Regions from separate parts of the Homo sapiens genome. Here region 2 is linked to region 1. The links are contacts of gene promoters, found by promoter capture Hi-C in human tissues and cell types (Jung and others, 2019). All regions are on one chromosome and are shown on one strand. Each heading gives the region's core, a stretch centred on a gene start or on the middle of the fragment in contact. The rest is flanking DNA. Distances are from core to core; before and after follow the strand shown. Region 1 holds the start of RFC5 (replication factor C subunit 5). Region 2 overlaps FBXO21 (F-box protein 21).

The links. Contacts are between HindIII fragments. The study calls those that stand out against the background at their distance.
Region 2: a contact is called between a fragment that was not itself captured here and the fragment with the promoter of RFC5 in region 1, in 1 of the 25 tissues and cell types used here (IMR-90 fibroblasts).

What each region holds. Positions count from the first base shown.
Region 1 is chr12:118,013,658-118,020,560 of GRCh38, forward strand. RFC5 (replication factor C subunit 5) reads left to right here and starts at 3,046. Exons shown (of 11, transcript NM_007370.7): 1 at 3,046-3,235; 2 at 5,415-5,479; 3 at 5,975-6,111. The coding sequence starts at 3,171. RefSeq lists enhancers at 377-546, 2,754-2,923, a cis regulatory region at 462 and a silencer at 3,288-3,337. The HindIII fragment of the contact is 13,218 bases long and covers 1-5,947 here.
Region 2 is chr12:117,176,490-117,183,392 of GRCh38, forward strand. FBXO21 (F-box protein 21) reads right to left here. Exons shown (of 12, transcript NM_015002.3): 4 at 1,031-1,152. Among named protein-coding and RNA genes, the nearest start is that of FBXO21, 11 kb to the right of the region's middle. The HindIII fragment of the contact is 9,040 bases long and covers 1-6,903 here.

The DNA.
Region 1 (6,903 bases), core at 1,796-4,295:
GCTCGTACCATGATGGTAAGGATGGCCTTAACCATCAATAAGGGCAGATTATGGCATAGTTCCACTAGCCAATCCTTTGGGTTTTGTTTCAGAGGACAAATTTGAAACCAGAACAGTTTGGGTGGAGAGTGTTAGGAGGGAAGGGAAGAGTAGGGTGGCGATGTATTGGATGCTGCACATTTGTTCTTTCATTTAATCCTTACAACAATCTTTGAGTAAATATTATTGGATAAGGAGAGAAGAAACCTGCCCAAGGCTAAGTGGAAAAAGTGGCATCCCACCCCAAGGGTACCTAATGCTTGGCAAGGAGCAAAACCACTGAAGGGAGAACAAATCATGAACAAAGAGAGAAGGATCCAGAGTCCACGTGGCCATCTTCAAAAGTTTGCCTTTGCCTTGCAACTTAAATTGCCTTTCTCATGAGAAGCAAAAACATTCAAATGCACCATTTTCCTGGCATGTAGGAATGCTTTGGTCTACATGTTCACTGCACTGATTCTAATAATTCTTTAGCCTTTATAATTCTTTTCATTCTCCTGGAACACTTGAGGATTTGGGGACTTGCTTAGGTTTCTCTCCATAGGCTGTGTAAAGATTTTTAGAGTTGAACTGATTCGAGGCAGGTCTTCTGACACCCAAAGCAATGCTTTCTTGATGACTTCTCCTTTAGTTTCAAAAGCCACTGTATTAGTCCATTTTCATACTGCTATAAAGAAATACCCAAGACTGGGTAATTTATAAAGGAAAGAGATTTAATTGACTCACAGTTCTACATGGCTGGGAAGGCCTCAGGAAACTTACAATCATGGTGGAAGGCGAAGGGGAAACAGGCACCTTCTTCACAAGGCGGCAGGAGAGAGAAGAAAGAGTGAAGTAGGAAGAGCTCTTTATCAAACCATCAGATCTTGTAAGAACTCACTGACTATCACAAGAACTGCATGGGGGAAACCGCTCCCATGATCCACTCACCTCTCTTCCTGGACACCTGGGGATTACAATTCAAGATGAGATTTGAGTGGAGAAACAGAGCCAAACCATATCAGCCACCCTTTAGGATTTTACCCCAGTGTGAAGCCTGCGTCTCAACAATTAGATCGTTGGTGAGGAGGGTATAGCACCATTTATTTCTTTAGTAATCTTTCATAATTTTGCTTAGTTATTGTATCAGTTGTTTTCTAAAATTGTATCAGCTGTTTTCCTTTATTTTTATACCCATCACTTGTATTTTATGCCTTTTAAAAAACAGAAGTGGGCTGGGTGTAGTGGCTCATGCCAATAATCCCAGCACTTTAAGAGGCCCAAGGCAGGCAGATCACTTGAGCCGGGGAGTTAGAGAGTGTAGTGAGCCGTGATTGTGCCACTGCACTCCAGCCTGGGTGACATAGTGAGACCTTCTCTCAAAAACGAAACAGAACAAAACCCCAGGAGTGTTCAAAGACCCCAGAATTTGGCAATACATGACAAATATTTAATGTGTTTCTATAACTTTAATTCAGAGGCATCTATATCTCACCTCAGCATGTGTCAGCAAATTAATTGTAAACATGTGCTGATTTTTAGCCTTAGTATTTAAGAAAAACTTGTTAATCATTTATGATTCCCTTCCTGGAGATAAAAATGAATAAAACCAGTTTTATCTTAAAAGAAAGAAAGAAAAGTTTAAAAATGGCATGCTAATGATCTAAGCCCCCAGTGTTAAAGTTTCCTGGGAGCAAGCAGAGTAGGGGCACTGTCACATCACAAGCCCTAGCTGATCCCCTTCTTCGGGGTCCCCAGGCAGGGGCTAGGGTGAAGCCATAACTGCCATCACATACTTGCCACTGTCCCTCTGCTGTGTTCCTGAAGCAGGTGACAGTGATGTAATCCTATGCAAAGAGTATTGCTACCTCCTAATCAGAACACTGCTGACCCCAGGCCAGCCTCAAAAATCCTCCAGGATTTTTGTCTTCCTCATCATGTTAAAAGAAAAAAAAAAAGAAAAGACTTCAATATGGATGCTTTGCATGCTCATTGCTGGAAAATACAGACCAGGCCAGGCGCAGTGGCTCACGCCTGTAATCCCAGCACTTTGGGAGGCTGAGGCGGGTGGATCACTTGAGGTCAGGAATTCGAGACCAGCCTATCCAACATGGCAAAATCCCATCTCTACTAAAAATACAAAAATTAGCCAGGCGTGGTGGCGCGCGCCTGTAATCCCAGCTTCTCCGGAGGTTGAGGCAGAGAATCGCTTGAACCCGGGAGGCAGAGGTTGCAGTGAGCCGAGATAGCGCCACTGCACTCCAGCCTGGGTGACAGAGCAAGACACCAAAAAAAAGAAAAGAAAATACAGACCAACAAAAAAGAAGAAAATAAAAGTGATCTAGAATTCTCCTCGCCTCAGGAAAAAAACCTAAAATGTTGATATCGATTCTCCTCAGTATCTCAGATCACAAGGACCTTGTCCTCTGTGTTCATGAACTAGACCTTCCAGCGACACAGATTAACCCAACTGGAAGTTTCTGTTTGTTTTTCTCTGGAGTCGTTTTCTGGAGGTTGGTTCCCTAAACTTTTTGGGCGAGGGGCACGGATTCCGGAGATAGGTAGGTTGCAGTTGTGTTTGTTTGGGGTTGTTTTCATTTCCAAATATTCACCTCCCAGCTTGGGGGCCGAGAGGTATCTCAAGCCTTCTTTCGCAAAGGCATCTATATTCAAGACCCAGCCGTTTTACTCGGTGTTGTTTTTTTTCTTAGATTTTTTTTTTTTTTTTTGAGCCCCGGCAGCTTTTGTTCCTTTGAATTTAAGTGTTTGAAGCTTGGCGATGGCAGGAATTGGCTTTGGCCTTGAGATCTTAATATGTAATGATGACTGGGGCTGCAGGGGGCCCTGCCTCTCCCGCTGCCCTGCTCTGGAAGCGCCTGGGTATCTGAGAGTTCAGAGCAGGCTGGAGGGGCGGAGCTTGGAGGGACGCTGGCGGCCCGCGCCTCCGGTAACCTAGCAACCGACGCCCTAGCAACGCGAGGGGGCGGGACCGAGGGAGGAAGTCGGAAACTGGTGGCCGCGTCTCGCGAGAGTTGCTTTTGCGCGCGAACTGTAAGTGCCAGGGTCTCAGGGTCAGGTCGCGGCTGGTCACTGTGCAGGCGCTTGGGTGACGCGACGATCTCAGCGGATCTGGTCACCTTCGTCTCCCCGCCATGGAGACCTCAGCACTCAAGCAGCAGGAGCAGCCCGCGGCGACCAAGATCAGGAACCTGCCCTGGTAGGAGGAGGCCGAGCGGCGGCGGTGGGCAGAGGGGGCCAGGCGGCCGCGCGGGGAGGAGGTGGCTGGGGTGGCAGGTGACCGGACCCCAACCCGACCTCTTCCCGTCGTCTCCAGGCCTGCAGCCGGGACCGACCTGCAGAGGTTTCCCCCGACACCCCCCAGCTACCCAGACTCGTCCGTTCTGTTTAGGGCTTTTGCCAGTTCTCACCCTTTCACCCCCAGCTCCATTTGCCGAAGAAGAAGGCGGCTTTCGCACCTGGTGACAGCACAGGGGTTCGATCCCGCGTCTCCTGACGCCTGCAATGGCCTCCATGCCAAAATGCCCTCTTCCCACTCTTCAAAACCTGCGATGCGACTATTGGTCACATTTTAAACTAGTAATAACGCTCCCTGGTCAACTTTTATTGAATGGCATATTATTAGATTAGCAGACGCCCTGTTAGATGTTCGATCCTTACAAAGACCGTAGGAGGTAGGCACCGCTTCAAATTTTACACAGGAGGAAACTGCATTTTAGAAAGATGTAATGACTTCCCTATGGTCCAAGGGAGAAAATTGGCTTGGAGGTGAATCTAGGAAGTCTGAATTCAGATCTTGTACTCTTAACCATCCTACTTAAACAGCTATGTTCTCGCAATGCTTCCAAGACTTTGAAGCAATTTGGCTTGGCTTCGAAAAGCTGCAAGTTGTCATTGTCTAGTAACTAGTTCAATTTGTCTTTATTGTGGTTAAAAAAAACCCAGAAGATTGACAGTTGTAACTATTTTATGTATTTACGTATTTTTTTTTTTTAGAGACAGGGTCTCGCTCTGTCGCCCATGCTGGAGCGCAGTGGTGTGATCACAGCTCAGTGTAACCTCAAACATTGGGGTTCAAGCCATTCTCCTGCCTCAGCCTCCGAAGAACTGGGACTTTTAGAGGCGAGCTACCAAGCCCATCCTGTAACCATTTTAAAATGTACAATTCAGTGGCATTAAGTACATTCAGAATGCAGTGTACTGTTGTGGAGTCTTCCCGCTATCTAGTTCCAAAATTTCATCACCCCAAATGGAAATCCTTTACCCATTGACAGTTACTCCCCATTCTCCCCTTCCTCTAGCCCCTGGCAACCACTAATCTGCTTTCTATCTATGGATTTGCCTATTCTGGACATTTCATGTAAGTGGAATCCTACACTATGTGGCCTTTTGTGTCTGGTTTCTTTCACTCAGGATCATGTTTTCAAGGTTCATGCATGTTGCTGCTTGTATCAGTAGTTAATTTCTTGTTATGGCTGAATCATATTCCATTGTATGGACAGAAGAGATTTTACCTATCCATTCTTCTGTTGAAGTCTATTTGGGTAGGAGTTCAGTTTCAAATGCACTTTGCAATAGTAGGTGCCCATCAGGTTGAGATTATAGGCAAACAGCTGGAAAGATGAAGTTAGAACAGAGTTTTCAACCTCAGCACTATTGACATTTTGGGCCAGATACTCTGGGTGGGTTTAGGGGAGCTGTCCTGTGCACTGTAGCATGTTTAACAGCATTCCTGGAGACTACACACTGAGTGCCATAGGACCCTCTGCCCACCTGTGACAACTAAGTATGTTTCTAGATATCACTAGATGTTCCTAGGAAGACAAAATCACCTGTGGTTGGGAACCACTGGTCTGTTCAAACTTAAAGTGCTTTCTTATTCTTCCTTTTTAAATTAGGATATGAAAGGATTCTGTTTTTTTTTTTAAGACAAGGTCTCACTCTGTCGCCCAGGCTGGAGTGCTGGAGTGCAGTGGTGCAATCTCGGTTCACTGCAACCTCCGCCTCCCGGGTTCCAGCAATTCTCCCACCCCAGCCTTCGGGGTAGCTGGGGCTACAGGGGTATGCCACCATGCCCAGCTAATTTTTGTATTTTTTGGTATTTTTTATTGAATGGCATATTATCGGGTTAGCAGACACCCTGTTAGTTGTTCTATCCTTACAAAGACCCTAGGAGGTACCCATAGAGACAGGGTTTTGCCATGTTGGCCGGGCTGGTTGGTCTTGAACTCCTGACCCCAAATGATCCACCCACCTTGGCCTCCCAAAGTGCTGGGATTACAGGCATGAGCCACTGTGCCTGACCTGCAAGGATTCTTTTGCACATAAAATATTCTTGCATTTATATATGTCATAATACATACTAAATTGTATTTCAGGGTTGAAAAATACCGGCCACAGACCCTGAATGATCTCATTTCTCATCAGGACATTCTGAGTACCAGTAAGTATTCATGTGTCAGTTGCTCTTGTCCTGCTTGAGCGACTTGTATAAATTGCTTGGTGATGTTGTCTCTCCTAAGTAATAACTTCAAAGAATCTGATTGCGCTTTGTAGAATGTGGCTTTAAGATCATTCATTCATTTTCTTCAGGTTGCTACAGTCCAGTGGGTAAGTCACAAACATGAGCATAAAATTGCAACACAGTGGAGTAAAAATAGCATTACGGAGAATCATTTAAGTTCACAGATGTTGCCAGCACCCAGAAAGGTGCCTGTAACACAGTAGGCACTCAATAAATACTTGTTGACTGGCTGCGCTATTGAGTGAATTCCAGTTGTTCCACGAAAGTAGATATGAGGCCCCTACATCAAGTTGTATCTGCCTCTGATTTGGACATTGAATTGGGTTGAAGAGCTTTCAGCCCAACTCAGGAGCCCAGGGTGAATGAGGCAGCTCCCAAAGACTGATGGTGCCCTTCTTCCTTCCTGATCCTCAGTTCAGAAGTTTATCAATGAAGACCGACTGCCACACTTGCTTCTCTACGGTCCCCCAGGGACAGGCAAGACATCTACCATCCTAGCCTGTGCGAAACAGCTATATAAAGACAAAGAATTTGGCTCCATGGTCTTGGAGGTAAATAAGATTGTTCTTACTCTACAAATAACTTAAGAGACTCCAGTCTCTTAATTTCAGTTCTGCTGGTTTTATTTTACTTTAAAAGTAAGTTGCCCCACGGACAGTTAGGAAAGAAGTAAATTTGAATATTTTAATTCCCTTTTTCCTATAATGGTCATTTTGGTCTGGATTAGCGTTGGTCAGCTAGAGGGCAGTTGTAGGGTTTGGCACCTTTTTCTTTGCTCTTGCCAACTTCTCCCCAAACCTTACTTTATGGTGACTTGGTTGCTGCCTGTCTGCCATGGCCCCTCTAGATCAATTCTCCACGTTTCTCCACCATATTCCTGCCTGGAAGGCTGAGCCCTACTGACTATAAGCTCACTTACCCTCTGGCTCCTGGTTGGGTTTGGCCAATAGGGGCCTTGGCAGGGGTGGGGGAAGGAAGTGAGTGATGCCTGGGCCTTCCCTGGGGGCTGACACAGGCTGGCAGCATGGCCCACCTGTAGGGTACATCTCACAGGTGGTACCTTTCCTGCAGCCCTCTCCAGGTGCCTACAGCCACTCCCTTCACTAAGCCCTTCAGGCTCAAGGGTGACAGGTATTGCATAGCCCCATGGTTTTCCTATATCACACCTTTAAAAAGATCTTGTTTAATTCTCTTCAAATTGCTGCATTTGAGTATGCCATCTGTATATTGCTGGGACCTTGACTAATATACTTAGATTCAAAAATCTGAGTATTGTCTATTGCAAGAAAAGTTTAACTTACTTTTTAGACGCAGGTCTCAGAACTTTGCTGCTACTAATGTCC
Region 2 (6,903 bases), core at 1,159-3,658, 840 kb before region 1:
AGAGGTTAAATATAAAAGGGAAATCAGTTGTCCACATTGCAGGTTTCACATGCAGTGGTGAAGGCTAGATTTCTAATGGGGCTGGCACTGGTATTTTGGCTGACTTGGAGGGAAGGGGGGGTAATGTTCATGAAAGCAAGTATTACTCAGAAAGTTGTTGCCAGGAGAGGTGGCCATAGACTGCATGAGACTAGTTACAGAAGCCAGCCAGGTGTGGTGGCACTTGAGCACGGGAGTTTGAATCTAGCATAGGTGACATAGCAAGACCCCGTCTCTAAAAATAAATACATTTTTTTTAAAAAAAGGAATAGTAACAGAATGGGAACATGACTATGAGATACACTGGAATGGAAAAAAAAATCAACAATCTGGTAAAACATCAGAAGTAGGGAATAAAAGTAAACGACCAGTCATATTTGTATTTCATAACCATAATTTATGGGAATGTTTGTGTAATATTGTAGGAATTCAAAATCATTTTAAAAAAAATGGAAGTCTCACTTTGTTCCTGTTCAACTTAATAAGAACAAAAAGATTCTCCACTCCCTTCATCTTGCCTGTCCACTCAACTTCTTCCTTCTCACCTTTCATTACGGACAAGCAGACTCACTGATGCCCAAGAACATTCTGTCCTCAATAAACTCCAACCTGAGAGGTTAAGGGATTTACTCAAGGTCACAGGGAGACAAAATTGGATACATTTACTTCTGATTTGGAAATGATCATTAAAGCTCGGAAAAACAGGAATTTACTTCATTAGCTAAAGTATCACTCTCACATTTTAAGCCAATGATGCATCTTTAAAAAACACTATTTCTTTAGTGGACTTTGATAAAATCTTAGCTCTAAATTTAATAGTTTGAACTACCTCATTGATCAGGCCCTATAATCCAACCTGCAGAAGCCCACGCAACATGATTTGCTTTTTCACTTCTTTACCACAAGGAACACAATTCCCTCTGCTGGTCTTAAAAAACTAATCAGTTACCTACAGAAATACTACTGTCCACATATATGGGAAAAGACCCACCTTCAAGATACGACTCATAGTCATCTGGCTGCTGAAGAAAGGCCTTAAGATTATTTAAGATCTTCTGTTGCCGCAGGTAGTAAAGAATTTTTTTTGCGTAGTATTTCCAGGTCAAAGCTTTTCTGGAAACAAAAAGTCAGTAAGAATTAAGATTTGAAAACTTTCAGTTATCTATTTTTCACATTACACTAACATACCATGTAGTTTGCTTAACAAGAAAAATATAATTGGTTCATTCTCTTATAATAATTATAATGGAAATAGCAGTCTTTGAATTGTAATATAATACTAAATTAGTTGTACTGAAATCTGAGGAACAGTTATCTGCCTGGCTTCAGACTTACTTGCCTGTATCTTTCATAAAAGGAAATGGAAGAGCAGCCTGAAAAAGGAATTGAGCTGGGGGAGGTTCAGAAGATGGGGAGGCATCTAGAACCTTTTGCTGGTCCCCCTGCTTGGGCCACTTGGGCCTGGGCACTCACTGCCATGGTGAGTTCCTCACGGTTTCACATATTATGAAAACTCCTATTTTCCAGACCAGAGTTCTCTCTTGAACTCTAGACCTTTGTATCAACTACTATCCATCTACTCCACATCCCACTCAGATAGCTGAGCACTTTCATCTTTCTTCCCCTCCCAGAGTCACCCTCATCTCTGATCAAGGCATCTCCATCATTCTAGTGAGGCATAAAACCTGCGAGTCATCCTGGATGCCTTGCTTTCTCTCATAAGCCATACTTAAGACCTGTCAGCCAATGCTATCGGTACTATCTTCAAATTACATCCAAAATGTGCACACTTCCCAATTACTCCCACACACCACCATCAGCATTCCTGTGTTGCAGCAACATCCTCCTACCTCAGCTTCCCGCTTCAGACCTGGCCCCTCCACAGTCCATCCTCAATACGGCAGCCAGAGCACTGCAGTAACACGTACGGTCACGCCACCCAATCCTCGCCTCCAAGTCTCCAGCGGTTTCCCACCTCGCTCCAAGAAAAAGCCCAAGTCCTAAGGAGGACTTAAAAGGTCTCTTGAACTCTCGCCCCATTACCTCTCTGACCCCAATTCCTGCCACTCCCCCTCAGTCCAGCCACCCAAGCATTCCAGCTGTTCCTTTACTGTCTGGCGGGTGCTCACCTTAGTGCCCTGTTCTTCTGCCTGGAACATTCTCTCCAGAGACTGCAGTCTGTTCTCACCTTCTCCTAGGTTTCAACTCAAATGTCCCCTTGAGTAAGGCCCCCTACATTATTTTAAATGGTACCCCCTCACCACTCCCCTGCCTTCTTCCCCGATTATATTTCTCTATAGCATGTTTCATTTTCTAATGTAACCAATTTCTTAGTGCCCATCTCGCCCACTACAGTATAAGCCCCATGAAGGCAGGGATTTTTTTTGTGTTGTTCACTGCTGTATCCCTAGTGCCTAGAATAGCATCTGGCACATAGTAGATGTTCCATAACACTTGTTGAGTGGATAAAATTCTTCACCACATATCCCAAATACATATGGGGATTATAAGAAGCAGGAGAGAGACAGTGATGAAACTTATCTGGCTGACATCATGAAGAAACAAACAACTTGCCAATCTTGAGAGAGGTCAATGAAAATCTGCAGAATGATCTATGTTTCATCTACTTTTTAACCTTTGAGTTGTAAAATATATCAATCTAGAAAATTGTGTGAAACAAACAAGTAGCTTAATGAATCATTACAAGGCACATTCCTGGATCTAACACTCTTGCCAAGAAAGAAAACTTTGCAAACGGCCAAGAAGCCCTCCGGGGCCCCCCGCAACAATAATCACAAACCACACCTCTATGGTCATCACTTTCTTGCTTTTCTCTTTAGTATTACCATGAAATATACATCCCTAAACAGGCGAGTCTGTTTTGATGCCTTCTAAATCTCTTAATCTACAGGATCCTCCTCCATCTTTTTTTTTTCCCTTGCATTTTATTTGTTGAAGAACCTGGGTTGTTTGACCTGCAGTTTCCCATCGTCTGAAATTTGCTGACTGTACCCACATGATGTAGTTTAACATGTTCTTCTGTCTTCTGATCTCCTGTAAATTGGATGTAGAGGCTACATGAGATACAGATTCCATTAATTTAGCAAGATAATTTCATAGAAGGTAGTGCATTCTCCCATCAGGAGGCAATAATGCCTGGGTGTTTCTTTTGTGATGTCAGCAGCACTGCTACTCAATGTCTTGATCTGTTCATTCATTTGAGGTTACGAAGTGGTGATATTAAAATTCAATCAACCCTTCTTAATTCATTAGCTGGGATACTTCTATAAGGAAAAACCTCCCCGTCTATTATTTGATCCCCCATGATACAGTACATGGAAAAGGCAGGATAAATGCTCATATCTTCTATTTACAATTTTTCAAAACAATGATATGGGCTTCTATTTATCCTTCAAAGGTGACCAATTAATTTTTTAGTATTATGGACTCAGAGAGACAAGCATATTCGATGCATTTCAATCCATTCCTGTTATTATCCACACTGATGCTCTAACTGTCACATCTTTGGCCACTGGAAGCCTCTTCATATTGGTTCCTCAATACTTCCGACATAAAGTAGTGTCAGTTTTCTTACTATCTGGTTAGGTTTCCAGGATGCACCACCAGGCTCATCTTTTAAAATCCTTGCATTGGACATACAATCAGTCTTTCTCCAAAAACCCTGGCTTCTTTTGTGGAAAATGTTGTATCAAGATGACAATCTGGAAACCAGGGAAGATCAATTCCACTAGGTTGGTTATTATTTCTAGATCTTTTCAGCAAACAGACGTAGGAAGCCTAGTGTTGATGTGCACGTGTGTGTACATGTACATATGCACATGCACTTACATATACCTACATGTATTTAAATATAAAATACCTTTTGAGTTCACACTGGCACTTCTAATTCAAAAATATATGTCTCTGACCTTCTTCTATCTTATATCTATGTCTTCTTTATTCCAGGAGAATTCTGCTTCTCCAGGATATCACAGGTGGTAAAATTAGAATATCACATCGTTATTCATTTACTTCATTCCACATCTCTCTCTCATACACACACACCAGCCCTCAGAATAACAAGACTAATGTTTTCATCACTTTTTTTTTTCTTTTGAGACGGAGTCTCGCTCTGTCGCCAGGCTGGAGTGCAGTGGTGCGATCTCAGCTCACTGCAATCTCCGCCTCCCGGGTTCAACCTAGTCTCCTGCCTCAGCCTCCCAAATAGCTGGGATTACAGGCTGCATCACCACACCAAGCTAATTTTTTTTTTTTTATGTATTTTTAGTAGAGACGAGGTTTCACCATGTTGGCCAGGATGGTCTCAGTCTCCTGACCTTGTGATCCGCCTACCTCAGCCTCCCAAAGTGCTGGGATTACTCATCACTTTTATGATTACTGAAAACAGCTAAATATTTTGCATATGTTCTCCCCCACTGTCCATTCATTTTTTAAAACAGATGCATTGTATTTATACTGACATGTCTTACAGACGTTACACATGAAATATTTTCTCCCCTAGAGCCCTCATTTGAATTTAAATCTAAAAATAAATACATGTTTAGTGCTCACTGCCAGTCCTTATATCAGTGTTTCTCTGTTTTGTTTTTTTTGGGGCGGGGAGTGGTTTTTGGTCATTTGAAATTCATTTTCCAGGAGATCTCTCAGGAAGGACTGAAAAGTCACTGAATTCTTGTTAAGTTGTTAAGTTTCTGTGCAGTCTTTGTATCTGGAAGTCAGTTTGGCTGGATATAAAAATCCTTGGTTGACATTTCCTTAGATCATTGAGTATCTTAAGCTATTTTTTCCTTTGGCACAAAAAATTCTGTTGAAAAGTCTGATGATATTCTTATTTTCTTTTCCTTATAAATGACTTTACCTTTTTTGCTTGGATGCTCAAAGGACTTTCCTGTCTTTAAAATCCAGCAATTTTACTAAAGTATGTCTCAGTATTGGTCATTCTGTGACACTTTTCTCAGGTACAATGTATGAATTTATCTATCTATCTATTTATATCTATCTATCTATCTGAGACAGTCTATCGATCGATCGATCTATCTATCTGAGACAGTCTATCTATCTATCTATCTATCTATCTATCTATCTATCTATCTATCTAATCTAGCTATCTATCTATCTGAGACAGAGTCTCACTTTGCCACCCAGGCTGGAGTGCAGCGGCATAATGTCAGCTCACTGCAACCTCCACTTCCCAGGTTCAAGCGATTCTCTTGTTTCAGCCTCTTGAGTAGCTGGGATTACAGGTGCCTGCCACCATGCCCGGCTAATTTTTTGTATTTTCAGTAGAGACGGCGTTTCTCCATGTTGGCCAGGCTGGTCTCGAACTCCTGACCTCAGGTGATCTGCCCACCTCAGCCTCCCAAAGTCATGGGATTACAGGTGTGAGCCACTGTGCCTGGCCCAGTGTATGCCCTTTTAATATGCTGTTTCTAATCTTTATTGTAGGACATACTCGTTTTTAAGACCACATAGCACATCATAAACACAAACTGATTTCAAGCTGATACTTTGGCATTTATGGAAACTACACTTTTTCCTTCCCATGCTTTCCATATCCAAACCATAAGCATTTGCCAGGAATGAAAACAAACAGGGTCTTCCATGAAAACTGGTATCCCAAAATATTTTTAAATGCGGGGTATTCTATCATTTAAAAACAACCTTATTTGTTTGTTGGCTCACACTTATAGTCCTAGTACTTTGGAAGGCCAAGGTGGGAGGATCACTTGAAGTCAAGAGTTCAAGACCAGCCTGGGAAACATAGTGAGACACTGTCTCTACCAAATAAAAATTAGCCAGGCATGATGGTACATGCCTGTATTCCTAGCTACTCAGGAGGCTGAGGCCAGAGGATCCCCTGAACACAGGATTCAAGGTTACAGTGAGCCATGATTGCACCACTGTACTCCAGCCTGGGCAACAGGATGAAACCCTGTCTCAAAAAAACAAACAGGGCTGGGCGTGGTGGCTCACACCTGTAATCCCAGCACATTGGGAGGCCACAGCAAGAGGATCTTTTTTTTTTTTTTTTTTTTTTTGGACCGAGTCTGTCGCCCAGGCTGGAGTGCAGTGGTGCAATCTCAGCTTACTGCAACCTCAGCCTCCCAGGTTCAAGCAATTCTCCTGTCTCAGCCTCCCGAGTAGCCGGGATTACAGGCGTGTGCCACCATGCCCAGCTAATTTTTGTATTTTTAGTAGAGGCAGGGTTTTACCATGTTGGACAGGCTGGTCTTGAACTCCTGACCTCAAGTGATCAACCCGCCTCGGCCTCTCAAAATGCTGTGATTACAGGCGTGAGCCACCATGCCTGGCTGGGAAGATCTCTTGAGGCCAGGAGTTTAGTAACTGCCTGGGCAACAAAGCAAGACTCCATCTATACAAAAAATAGAAAAAATTAGCCAGGTGTGGTGGCAAGTGCCTGTAGTCCTAACTACTCGGGAGGCTGAGGCAGGAGGGTCACTTGAGCCCAGGGGTTTGAGTCTGCAGTGAGCTATGATTGCGTCACAGCATTCCACCCTGGGTGACAAGAGTGAGACTCTGTTTCTAAAACAAACAATCCTTTTTTAAGGTCAAAATATGTGTGTTGGGTAACCTATTCGTATTTATTTCTAAAAACACTATAATATATGTCTTTACTAGCTATGCATTTTCATCTTTTTTGGGAACCTGATATGTAAAATGGCAGTATCTCATTGCTGTTTAACACTTTTTTTTTTTTGAGACGGAGTTTCACTCTTGTCACCCAGGCTGGAATGCAATGGCGCGATCTCGGCTCACTGCAACCTCTGCCTCCCACGCCTCCCAGGTTCAAGCAATTATCCTGCCTCAGCCTCCCCAGTAGCT